Linked DNA regions of Homo sapiens: regions 1 and 3 are each linked to region 2. Evidence: promoter capture Hi-C in 16 types of primary human blood cells and fetal thymus (Javierre and others, 2016). All regions are on one chromosome and are shown on one strand. The core of a region is centred on a gene start or on the middle of the fragment in contact, and the rest is flanking DNA. Distances in the headings are between cores, read along the strand shown. Region 1 has its middle 12 kb from the start of CFAP68. Region 2 holds the start of TIMM8B (translocase of inner mitochondrial membrane 8 homolog B). Region 3 holds the start of C11orf52 (chromosome 11 open reading frame 52).

The links. The method cuts DNA at HindIII sites, captures the fragments that hold promoters and counts their contacts. A CHiCAGO score of 5 or more calls a contact.
Region 1: a contact is called between a fragment that was not itself captured here and the fragment with the promoter of TIMM8B in region 2, in 1 of 17 cell types (neutrophils). The highest score is 6.0, in neutrophils.
Region 3: a contact is called between a fragment that was not itself captured here and the fragment with the promoter of TIMM8B in region 2, in 1 of 17 cell types (neutrophils). The highest score is 5.2, in neutrophils.

What each region holds. Positions count from the first base shown.
Region 1 is chr11:111,889,884-111,893,716 of GRCh38, forward strand. No RefSeq gene overlaps it. Among named protein-coding and RNA genes, the nearest start is that of CFAP68, 12 kb to the left of the region's middle. The HindIII fragment of the contact is 3,008 bases long and covers 86-3,093 here.
Region 2 is chr11:112,083,862-112,088,005 of GRCh38, forward strand. It overlaps TIMM8B (translocase of inner mitochondrial membrane 8 homolog B), which reads right to left and starts at 2,895. Exons shown (of 2, transcript NM_012459.4): 1 at 2,779-2,895; 2 at 939-1,601. The coding sequence starts at 2,862. The coding sequence ends at 1,434. It overlaps SDHD (succinate dehydrogenase complex subunit D), which reads left to right and starts at 3,012. Exons shown (of 4, transcript NM_003002.4): 1 at 3,012-3,098; 2 at 3,996-4,112. The coding sequence starts at 3,047. NKAPD1 (NKAP domain containing 1) reads left to right here. Exons shown (of 6, transcript NM_018195.4): 6 at 1-1,289. RefSeq lists enhancers at 2,450-3,649, 3,013-3,282, 3,976-4,144. The HindIII fragment of the contact is 12,905 bases long and covers 260-4,144 here.
Region 3 is chr11:111,917,536-111,921,950 of GRCh38, forward strand. It overlaps C11orf52 (chromosome 11 open reading frame 52), which reads left to right and starts at 1,378. Exons shown (of 4, transcript NM_080659.3): 1 at 1,378-1,469. The coding sequence starts at 1,438. It overlaps HSPB2-C11orf52 (HSPB2-C11orf52 readthrough (NMD candidate)), which reads left to right. Exons shown (of 5, transcript NR_037651.1): 2 at 1,143-1,469. It also overlaps a transcript of CRYAB not described here. RefSeq lists an enhancer at 1,210-1,504. The HindIII fragment of the contact is 1,765 bases long and covers 1,158-2,922 here.

The DNA.
Region 1 (3,833 bases), core at 340-2,839, 200 kb before region 2:
AAGTCCAATTTATCTATTTTTTGTTGGTGGTGCCTGTGCTTCTGGTGTTATATCCAAGAAACCATTGCTAAATACAGTGTTAAAAAGCTTTCCCCCTATTTTCTTCTAAGAGTTTTATAGTTTTAGTTCTGACAAAAGAGGTCTTTGGCTGGGCGCAGTGACTCATGCCTGTAATCCCAGCACTTTGGGAGGTCGAGGCAGGTGGATCACCTGAGGTCAGGATTTCAAGACCAGCCTGGCCAACACGGTGAAACCCATCTCTACTAAAAATTCAAAATTAGCCGGGTGTGGTGGTGCATGCCTGTAATCCCAGCTACTTGGGAGGCTGAAGCAGGAGAATTGCTTGAACCTCGGAGGTGGAGGTTGCAGTGAGCTGAGATCACACCATGCACTCCAGCCTTGGCAACAAGAGCAAAACCCTGTCTCAAAAAATAATAATAATAATAAATTAATTAAAAATAAATAAAATAGGTCTTTGATACTTTTGGAATTAATTTGTATCTATAGTATAAGGTATATATAAGGCATGGGTCCAACTTCATTCTTTTGCAAGTGAATATTCAGTTTTCCCAGCACCATTTGTTGAAAAGATTGTCCTTTCCCCATTAAATGGTCATGTCACCCTTGTTGGAAATCATTTGCCCATATGCACTAAGGTTTATTTCTGGACTCTATATTCTATTACATTGATCTACATTCTGCCTTTTTGCCAATATCACACCATTTTGATTACTGTAGTTTTGTAATAAGTTTTGAAATCAGAAAGTCTAAGTCTTCCCACTTTGTTCTTTTTCAAGATTGTTTCAGCTCTTCAGGGTCCCTTGAGATTCCATATGAATTTTAGGATAGATTTTTTTTTTCTGCAAAGTCATTGGAATTTTGATAGGGATTGCATTGAATCTGTAATCAGTATGGCTAATATTGATATCTTAATATTAAGTCTTCCAATTCATGAGCACAGATGTCTTTCCATTTATTTATGTCTTCTTAATTTCTTTCAGCAATACATTATAGTTTTCAGTGTATAAGTCTTACCTTCTTGGTTTATTCCTAAGTATTTTAGTCTTTTTGATGTTATTGTAAATAGTATTGTTGTCTTAATCTTTATTTCAGGTTACTAATTGTTAATGTATAGAAATGGAATTGATTTTTGTTTGTTGGTTTTGTGTCCTGCCACTTTGCTGAATTTGTATATTAGTTCTAATGGTGTGTGTGTGTGTGTGTGTGTGTGTGTGTGTGTGTGTAATCTTTAGGGTTTTCCACATGTAAGATCATGTCATCTGCAAACAGATAATTTTACTTCTTCCTTTCCAATGTGGATACTTTTATTTCTTTTTCTTACCTAATTGCTCTGAGCAGAACATCTAATAATATACTGAGTAGAAGTGGCAAAAGTGGGTATCCTTGTCTTGATCCTGATCTTAAAGGAAGACCTTTTATTTTTTTTCCAAGGACTGGCAATAGGCTAAAACTTTTAGTTTTGGTGGAATTTTTGTTTTTTGTTTTGTTTTTTATTTGTTGAGAGAGGGTCAAGTGCTAGAGTGTAGTGGCACGATCTTGGCTCACTGCAACCTCTGCTTCCCAGACTCAAGCTATACTCTCACCTCAGCCTCCCGAGTAGCTAGGACTACAGGTGCATGCCACCAGGCCATGCTAATTTTTGTAGTTTTTGTAGAGATGAGGTTTCGCCATACTGCCCAGGCTGGTCTCGAACTCCTGGGCCCAAGTGATCCTCCAGCCTCGGCCTCCCAAAGTGCTGAGATTACAGGTGTGAGCCCCCACACCTGGCCGAAACTTTTAATTTTTATCATTGAGTTTGGTGTTTGCTGTGGGTTTTTCATATATGGTCTTTATTATGTTGAGGTAGTTTCCTTCTACTCCTAGTTTGTTGAATGTTTTTATTGTATAAGGGTTTTGAATTCTGTCAAATGCTTTTTCTGCATTAACTGAGATGATCCTGTGGGATTTTTTCCCTCTATTTTGTAAATGCGGTGTATTGTATTGATTGATTTTAATATGTTGACTCAAACTTGCATTTCAGGAATATATTTATAATCCTTTTAATATCCTGCGAATTTGGTTTGCTAGTATTTTGTTGAAGATTTATGTGGTGTATTGGTCTGTAGTTTTCTTTTCTTGTAATGTCTTTGTCTAGCTTCGGTATCAGGGTAATGCTGGTCTCCCAGAATAAGTTAGGAAGTATTCCTCCTCTTTGTTTTTCTTTTAAAAAGTTTGAGGAGGACTGATGTTAATTCTTATATAAATATTTGGTAGAACTCATCAGTGAAGCCATCTGGTCCAGGGCTTTTCATTGTTGGGGTATTTTGATTACTAATTCAATTTCCTTACTCCAAATTATGGACCTACTCAGAGTTTCTATTTCTTCATGAGTCAGTTTTGGTAAAATATGTGTTTGTAGGAATTTATCTGTTTGACCTATGTTTCCAATTTGCTAGCAGATAATTGTTCATAGTATTCTCATATAATCTTTTTTATTTCTGTTTGCATCTGCAAAAATGTCCCCACTTTTTTCTGATTTTAGTAATTTGATTTTTCTCTCTTTTTTTCTTAGTCAATCTAGGTAAGGGTTGTCAATTTTGTTGATTTTTTCAAAGGAATAACTTTTGGTTTCATTGACTTCCTTTATTTTTCTGTTCTGTCTTTTATTTATCTCTGCTCTAACCTTTATTATTTTCTTTCTTCTTCTAGCTTTGGTTTGGATTTGCTTTTCTTTTTCTAGTTCCTTATGATGTAAAATCAGTTTTTTGATTTGCAATTTTTCTTTTTTTTCAATGTACAGCAGGTCTTCAAATAATGTTGTTTTATTTAGCATTGTATCATTATTAGGTTGATGAGAAAAACAAATTACTTCCCTGCTGGGACAGTGTCTGTGTGGAGTTTGCATGTTCTTCCCAAGTCTGCGTAGGTTTTCTTTGGGTACTCCAGGTTCCTCCTACATCCCAAAGATGCGCACATTAGGTGAACTGGCATTTCTAAATGGTCCCACAGTCTGAATGAGTGGGGGTGTGCATGTGAGTACACCCCATGATGGGATGGCATCCCATCCAGGGTCAGTTCCCTCTTTGTGCCCTAAGCTTCCAGGATAGGCTCCAACAACCTATGACCCTGAACTGGAATAAGTCAGTTGGAAAATGAATGAATGAATGAATGAATACAAAGTTTATAAAATAAAAATTCATAAAGTCTACAATAATCATACAGACGCACAACATAAGCAATGCTATAATAGAAAGCATTCAGCGAAGCCTCCAGATTTGTGACTGTTTGCCTTTGAACTGCATGGTGGTAGGAGACACTCCTTATAATTTTCACTTTGCAAACATTTATTCCTTGATTTAACTCACCACTGCTACAAATGCTGTCACTCACTGATTTACCAAAAATTGGGTAAATAATTACCTTACTTGTTTTTAGTAATCTTTTTTTTTTTTCTTCGAGATGGAGTTTCACTTTTCTTGCCCAGTGTGGAGTGCAGTGATGCAATCTCAGCTCGCTGCAACCTCCGCCTTCCGGTTTCAAGGGATTCTCCTGCCTCAGCCTCCCGAGTAGCTGGGATTACAGGCGCCTGCCACCACACCTGGCTAATTTTTGTATTTTTAGTAGAGATAGGGTTTCACCATGTTGGCCAGACTGGTCTCAAACTCCTGACCTTGTGATCTGCCCGCCTTGGCCTCCCAAAGTGCTGGGATTACAGGTGTGAGCCACCGTGCCTAGCCAGTAATCTTTCTTAAATGTATGTATACTTCATATTTATCTTGATGTTTAGTGTTAGAAGTATGGAGGAATCATATTACCTGACTTCAAATTGTACT
Region 2 (4,144 bases), core at 1,645-4,144:
AGTTGAATTATTTCCAAAATGAAACAGGCTTCTCAGGGACATATCCACTTCTTCCCAGTCTGCCTTTGGATTAAAGCACCAAGCAGAGACCACATTAATTCCCTTTGCTATACTGTGATCCTTAGTATGTTAATTCTTAAGAAACCAACATATCACTGAAAGAAGGCTGGCAGAACGCAAGTGCATTTTTTCACTGTGGGAAGAAAGATCAAGTGACGTATTATTTTTTCCTGGTTGTCACTTAATGGGCTGAGTAAAAAGCTTGAAAACTCAGACTTTCGGTCTTGGTTCTGCCACTCATTGGTTATGAGGAGGCCCAGAGCAGGTAAGTTCACCTTCCTGGCCTTACTTTCCTGATGTGTAATACGGAATTACTTCACAGTAGCATGACAGTATAAGACACCAGCAGTAGATACAACTATGATGACATTCCATGAGTTGGTATTTTTAGTTCTAACTGCTAAATTTGTTCTCTTTACGGGACAGATTTCTAATAAAGTGCTTGGTCTTAAAATACATGGTTGGACAGAGGTGCCCTATCCCTTAACTATGAGCAGGTGCTACCTTTTGGGATATTTATTTTAAATTTTAATACTTTGGTACTCAATTGTCAGTGTTCCATGGTGTGTATTTTTATTTTTGGGATTAGTGGGGGTCTAAAGGGAGAAGAATAGTCTCTAATTACTACCTCTTAACCTAAAGCAATTATTTTGTTCCTGGAGCAAGTTAAATCTTTGTTGGAAGGAGCTTTGGCCATATATTTTTTAGCATGCATTGTTTCTGTGCCCTGAAAGTACCTGAAAGGTTTTAAGCACAGACTCAGGAAAATGTGCCAGTAGAACAGGCCATCTCCAGGAAATTGGCTCTATTTGGGTCCTGACCTTCCCTTCCTCCCAAGTTAGCAGGCTTGTTCTTTCGCAAGGAATACACATCTTGCCTTTTTTTTTTTTTTTTTGCCATGTTTTCCTTTTCTTGGTCATGTATAAGCAATAAAGCTGTTTTTTGTTCTTCATCTTTCTTAACCCCAAATTTTCTTCTATGCCTTAGGCTTCGATGGTTCTTCCAACCCCCTTAATATGGCTTAGGGTGGTTTTTCAAAACCTACAATCCCCCATTTGCACTACTGGCCATGGAACATTTATTTCTAGTGTTCCTGCCAATCAGAGATCTCTATATTAAATTCTAAAATGGGATTAAAAGAAGAGTTGGAGAATTCACACTTATTGAGTAACTGATGTCATACAACCTGGAATTTCTGAATTCCAAATAAATAAATTTCACTCTTTGAACATTTCATCTTTTACTTTTTAGCACCAACAGACTTGATAACAGCCTGATGCTGATCTGACAATGGGTTGATAGCCTTCCCCCACTGACCCTTAAATCTGCTTAGTAACAAGTCCTTTGCTTCTGTCATTCTCCTGGGGGATGGCCTACTGCCCTCCTTTCTGTACAATCTGGGCAAACCGACTGGTGATGGCAAGAGTGGTGTCAATGAAGCGGTCTACACAGCTGGAGAGACAATTTTCAGTGCGAGAGTCTAGGCGATTCCCTGGCTTCTCCACACATTTATCCCAACATAACTCCATGAAGTGATGCACCTAAAAGGAAAGAAAAATAGTAACCATTGGGGTCTGCAGATAGGCCTAACTCTTGTTTATTAACTTCTCACTTTTTGACACCTGACAAAACCATTCTTTAAATCAACCACGGAGTCACTTTGGGCTCTTCTCTTTCTTCATTTCCTAATTAGTCACCAATATTGATCCAGATCCTCGTCCCTACAGATTGTACATTCTCAGGTAGGACTAATAACCTTTTATATTCCCCAAAGTAGCTAGCACCATTGTGAACCAACTAGGGAACCAATTAATTTTCCCAAACTATTGCACTCATTTTATTCCAAACCTATCCCCTAGACAAGGTAATTCTTCCATTAACCTTTTGGGGGTTATGGATCCACTCCCCAGAAAAATGCACATACAGGCACAGAAATTATGTGCACTGTCATTAGAATGTTCAGGGCCCAAAGATTTCTAGCCAGGGTTCTTGCTGGTCATCCGAGCACCCTCTTCCTCCCACCCAAAAGGAAAAAACCATTTTACCAAGAGCTTACTATTTGTGAGGCTGGGTACTAAGAAATCAGTTCTCTCTAAGGTCCTCAAGGATAGCTGTCATCACCTCCCATTTAAGAGGCGTGATTATGTAGTCCAAGGTCATGTAGCCAGCAAGAAGTCAGGCCGCGTTAGAACCATGTCCGAAGGGCTCCAAACCCTTGTTCTACATCCATAGTCTACAGCGACTACTTCAGAGTCCACCTTCCTCCGATAATGTTCTAGTCGTTTTCAAATACATTGTCGCATATGATCCTCACAATCCAGTGAGGCAGTGGGGTGACGGCGACACCAAAACCCACAGTGGATGAGTATCTTTTCTACGGGCACGTGGCCTGCAAGGAGCAGAGGGAGGATGAGAACCCAGATCTTTCGAATGCCAGCCCAGTCATGTCGCCGGCTAACTAGTCTCCCGTACCCTTGCGTCGCCCAAATCTTCCCTGTTTTACACCTTTTCTTTTCTCCACGCTACGCTTATATACCTGGCACCTGAGCACTACCGGTCACCAGGGACAGGAGAGCCATAACTTTGTCTTTCGTGAGGGGAATGGGATGCAGCCGGGATCGAGCACCAGTGAGCCGCCAGTGTACAGACCTCCGAGCGTGCCCAGGACCACCAAGGAAGGTGAAACTTCCTTTCCCTTCACCCTCCCCGTCCCCGCACCTGTGCAGTAAACTGCGCCTTCTGCTGCTCGGCGGCCACCAGGCGCTGCAACTCCGCTTCATCGGCTTCGCCCAGCTCCGCCATTGTTCGCCTCAGGCTCGCCACCTTCCGACAGCTGTGTTTGCGCATGCGCGACGGGTGTGCACCGCCTCTCGACTTCCGGTTCACCCAGCATTTCCTCTTCCCTGTTTTCTTTCGTCGTCGTGGGTGGGAATTGTCGCCTAAGTGGTTCCGGGTTGGTGGATGACCTTGAGCCCTCAGGAACGAGATGGCGGTTCTCTGGAGGCTGAGTGCCGTTTGCGGTGCCCTAGGAGGCCGAGGTGAGGGGTCTTCCCACCCTGAGGTGCTTAGCGTAGCCTCCAGCCAGGGAAGGGGATGGAAGTGAGGACTCATCTGCCGGGTGGGAGATCTCTTGAGGAGAAGAAAATACCGAAATCACAGCAATGACCACTGTAGTCTAGGGGTCCAGATGTTTACCCGAAGGTATATTTCACTTGCTGTGAGCTGACGAGTTGAGGGAATAATCAGAAAGAGAGCTCCCTCTGGAAGTCGCAGTCCTGATGAGGCTAATCCACATAGCAGTTCTGTTTTCTCCCCGTTCACTGTCCCTAGAATGCTCCCCACTCGCTCCCACCCTGAGTCGGGAAAGAGGGTTAGGAGCTTGCCCATTTCTTCTGGAGTTGGTGTGTTTGGATGTGGGAGTGGAGGGGGGATCAGTTCGAAAATCATTTAACCTGGGCATTTGTGTTACCTCAGGTACTGTAGTAATGCTAGGATACAAATGTGAAGAAAACGTAGTTCCCGCCCTCAACGAGCTTTCATTCTGATGAGGAAAACACTGTCATAGTAGTCCGGGCAAGATGAGGTCCTGAACTAGGAAAGTAGCACAAAGAAAAGAAGATTGTCTCAAGAACTGTTAAAGAGATACGCCAATAGGATTTGGCGATTGAATTTAGGGGAAAAGTCTCTCATGATTTCCAGATTACTGAGTTAGGTTAAAGAATGCCTGAGGTGTCATTAAATAAAGTAGGGAACATGCAGATGTTCCCTGGTCTTAACTTCACAGTAACCCCAGTGAAATAGATGCTATCTTCATTTTACAAATAAGATGTTATCCCCTATTTATTGTTAAGTAGCTTACCTATGGTCATTTAGAAAGTTTGTCAGTCCTGTTAAAGGAGAGGTTCTTATGATCATCCTAATGACTCTTTCCTCAGCTCTGTTGCTTCGAACTCCAGTGGTCAGACCTGCTCATATCTCAGCATTTCTTCAGGACCGACCTATCCCAGAATGGTGTGGAGTGCAGCACATACACTTGTCACCGAGCCACCATTGTATGTTCTCTCCATCGCTGCTGCTTTCTGGG
Region 3 (4,415 bases), core at 790-3,289, 170 kb before region 2:
CTCACACCTGTAACCCCAGCACTTTGGGAGGCTGAGATGGGAGGATTGCTTGAGGCCAGGAGTTCGAGACCAGCCTGGTCCACATAACAAGACCCCCATCTCACATTAATTTAAAAAAAAAAAAAAAGACCTTGTCTCTAAAAAGATTTTTTTTTTTTTAATTAGCTAGGCACAGTGGTGTGAGCCTGTAGTCCCAGCTACTCGAGAGGCTGAGGGGGGAGAATCTTTTGAGCGTAGGAGTTTGAGGTTGCAGTGAGCTAGCCACTCAACTCCAGCCTGGGTGACAGATTGAGACCCTGTCTTTAAAAATAAAAGAAAGAAAGAAAATAAGATGCTTTGTAATAATAACAACAATGCCTAACTCTTACTGAGTGTGTCCCATGTGCCAGGCCCTGCACTAGAGCTTTATTTTTCACCACAATCCTGTAAGATTGTCACTCTTACCCATGTTTCATAAGAGGAGGAGTTCAAAGTCCAGGGTATTCTCTGTGGAGTGCAGAGCTGAGTGGTGGGCCCTGAACATCCACTTAAAGGACAATAACCAGGCATCCGAGGAAAACACTAAAAATGGGGTGAGAGAACTGAACACAAGAATGATGGGTTTCACAGATTCTCGTAGAGCCCATATTTTCTACTGGTGAGTGCGGGTGAGTCTAACTTTGGGTTACTGGAAGGAGACGCAGAGTTGAGGGGTAAGTGGAGAATCAGTAGTTCTGAACTGTGGATAAGGAAATGAGTGGTTAAGAAGTGCTGAGGCCATCCTGATCATAGAATCATCTGATTTTATACCAGAAAGGGGATTAGATTCAGTTTTTTTCATTTCACAGCCCTAGAAACTTAGGCCCTATAAAGGTTAAGTGATTTGCCCACATCGATTTCAAATAGCAAGGGAGAATATATGAGGAACCCATTTCCCCAAACTTAAGTTTCCAAGAGACTCCAGTATCCCAACCCAGATTCTGTACAAAAATAATAAGAAACTGGTACCAATTGCCTCGAAAGTGAAACTCAGTTAAACCTGAGTGGTGCTGAGCAAACTACTACATTAGGCACTCATCTATTATAGAGGATATATTTCAAAGACAGAGTGATGTAATGGAGAAGCATTTCGTAAGGAAACCAAGAGCCCTTTTCTATCTCAGGTTTCTTTTTATTGAAGCTTGAAGCTCAAGTTCATGGCTTCATCAAAAGACGCTTCAAATCCTGAAGTTGAGATAGCTCTCACCTGGAGCCCGTGTGTTGTTCTACCCTTTGGCTGGGAACACAGTCACCTGGGAATCATTCCAGCAGGTGGCTTCAAAAGTCCAACCTGCTAGGTTGAAATCTGACACTGACACAGACTCCGGGAGCTGCCGCGGAAAGCTCAACCAGGAACCCGGAAATGCACAAGCCTCTTGATGCATAAAAACAGCTGGGCTCCCTTGGAGACAGAGCGCCATGGGAAACCGGGTCTGCTGCGGAGGAAGCTGGTGAGTAGGCTGGAAGGGCAAAGGGGAACATCTATCTCTGTTGGTGGATGTAGAGGCCCCGAAAATCAGAGGACCTGGAGATAGTTGTCTGCCAGCCTCCCACTGCCACCTTCCTCTGCCTGGTACCTCCTTGTTCCAACACCAGAGCAGCACCTCCTTTCAGGAGGCCTTAGAAGACAGAGCCAAGTGGCTGGGCGCGGTGGCTCACGCCTCTACTCCCAGCACTTTGGGAGGCCGAGGCCGGCGGATCACGAGGTCAGTAGATCGAGACCATCCTAGCCAACATGGTGAAACCCCGTCTCTACTGAAAATACAAAAATTAGCTGGGCATGGTGGCGCGCACCTGTAGTCCCAGCTACTCGGGAGGCTGAGGCAGGAGAATCGCTTGAATCCGGAAGGCGGAGGTTGCAGTGAGCCGAGATCGCGCCACTGCACTCCAGCCTGGCAACAGAGCGAGACTGTCTCAACAACAACAACAACAAAAAAAAACAGAGCCAAGCTAGCTGTCTGCGGAATGGCCAGAGCAGGGCAGGAATATTGAACCGGCATTGTTTTTCTGTGCCCTCTTCCTCCCTTTCCCCTTCTTTCCCTTTCTTCCTGGATGAGAGTAATAATTGTAGCACTTGAGAGCTTTCTATGTGCCAGACATTTTACAGTCTCATTTAATTTTTCCAATACTTTATGAGGTAAATGGTTTTGCCCCTCCTCCTATTTTACAGTCAGCTGAGAAACTGAGGCTCAGAGAAATTAACTAACTTGCCTAAGGTCACATGGCTGGTAAGCAAGTAAACCAAGATTCCAACTGAGGCCCACCTGACTTCAGAGGCCACCTTTTGAACCACTGCATAATATTGCCTCTTAGATCAAGCAAGTCAACTTTGAAGCAATGTTTATTTAAAAGGGCAGAAGTGCCAGGCGTGGTGGCTCACGCCTGTAATCCCAGAACTTTGGGAGGCCGAGGCGGGTGGATCACGAGGTCAGGAGATCGAGACCATCCTGGCTAACACGGTGAAACCCCATCTCTACTGAAAATACAAAAAATTAGCCGGGCGTGGTGGTGGGTGCCTGTAGTCCCAGCTACTCGGGAGGCTGAGTCAGGAGAATCCCTTGAACCCAGGAGACGGAGCTTGCAGTGAGCCGAGATTGCACCACTGCACTCCACCCTGGGTGACAGAGCAAGACTCCGTCTCAAAAATAAAATAAAATAAAATAGAATAAAATAAAATAAAATAAATTAAAGGGCAGAAGTGGTCGGATGCAGTGACTCACACCTGTAATCCTAGCACTTTGGGAGGCTGAGGCAGGCAGATGACTTGAGGCCAGGAGTTCAAGACCAGCCTGGCCAACATGGCAAAACACCATCTCTACTAAAAATACAAAAAAATTAGCCAGGCATGGTGGCACACGCCTGTAATCTGAGCTACTTGAGAAGCTAAGGCACGAGAATCCCTTAAGCTTGGGAGACAGAGGTTGCAGTGAGCTGAGATTGCGCCACTGCAGTCCAGACTGGGCAACAGAGCGAGACTATGTCTTGAAAAAAAAAAAGAAAAGGAGTTTGAGACCAGCCTGGGCAACATAGGGTGGCCCCATCTCTACAAAAAAATTAAAAATTAGCTAGGCGTGGTGGTGCGTGCTTGTAATCCCAGGTACTTGGGAGGCTGAGGCAGGAGGATCACCTGAGCCCTGGGGGTAGAGGCTGCAGTGAACCATGATCACACCACTGCACTCCAGTGTGGGTGACAGAATGAGACCCTGTCTCAAAAATGAAAATAAAAATAAAAGGGCAGAAGTAGGAAAAAGAAGAATATCCATGGAATATCTGAATATGACTTTCACACTTATTTACTATGTGACCATAGGTAATAAGTCCCTTAATTTCTCTGTATCCATCCTCACATGTAAAATGTAGATAATACATCCTACATTGTGTAGATCACAGGCTTATTTTGAAGAGCAAAGGATATAGCGTATGTGAAAACCTCATAATAAATTATCTGTGGGGTTGTTACTATTCTTTCCCAGAATTTTCATCACTGCCATGCCGTAAATTCCTGGTCCTGGTTTTATTCTGTCTACTGCCTTCCATGCCTGGGGCAGATCTGGAAGATGTCATGTTATAAATAAAGCATCATTATATTTAGATAGACAAGTGAAGTGCATTGGAAAACACACAGGTTTTGGAGTAGTACATTGGATTCAAGTCCTGCCCTACTACTCATTCATTTATCCATTCATTTATTAAACAGTGTTTATTGAACATGTACTACAGGCACAGTGATAGACACAGAAGACATAGTAATAAAAGGACATTTGGTCCCTGCCTTGTTGAGTAAGAAATACCCTGAAGGTCCAACATTTGGTAACTGTCTAAATACATGGCATATCCAATTAATGGGAAATACGTAGCCACTTCATAAAGAATGTTGGAAGAACACCTAACATCATGGAAAATTTTACTCTTTATTAAGTTAGTAAAAAAGGCCCTTCATTAACCCGTCTGTAAAATGGGAACAAAAATATGTGTTTCCTGGAATGTCAGGATTGAAAAAATAAAGCACCCTTTAAACTCTGAGGTGCCCTATAGACATAGGACATCTAGAAGCACAGAAAAGCTTCTAGAGAAGGAGATGTAACAGCTTCTTTTATTCTCTTTCTTCCCAAGTGTTGGTATTCTTTTTTCATTACTGATTAGTTCTCTGATGGTGATAGTCATTAGTGGTCAACTTTTACTCATGCTTATTATATGCTAGGAACCATGCTAAGTATTTTACATTTCCTGTTTTATTTAATCCTTACAATAATCCCATGAGGTCTGAATTATATTATCATACTCATTTTTTTTTTTTGAAACAGAGTTTTGCTTTATCTCCCAGTATGGAGTGCAGTGGCACAATCTTGGCTCGCTGCAACCTTAGCCTCCCAGGTGTAAGCGATTCTCATGCCTCA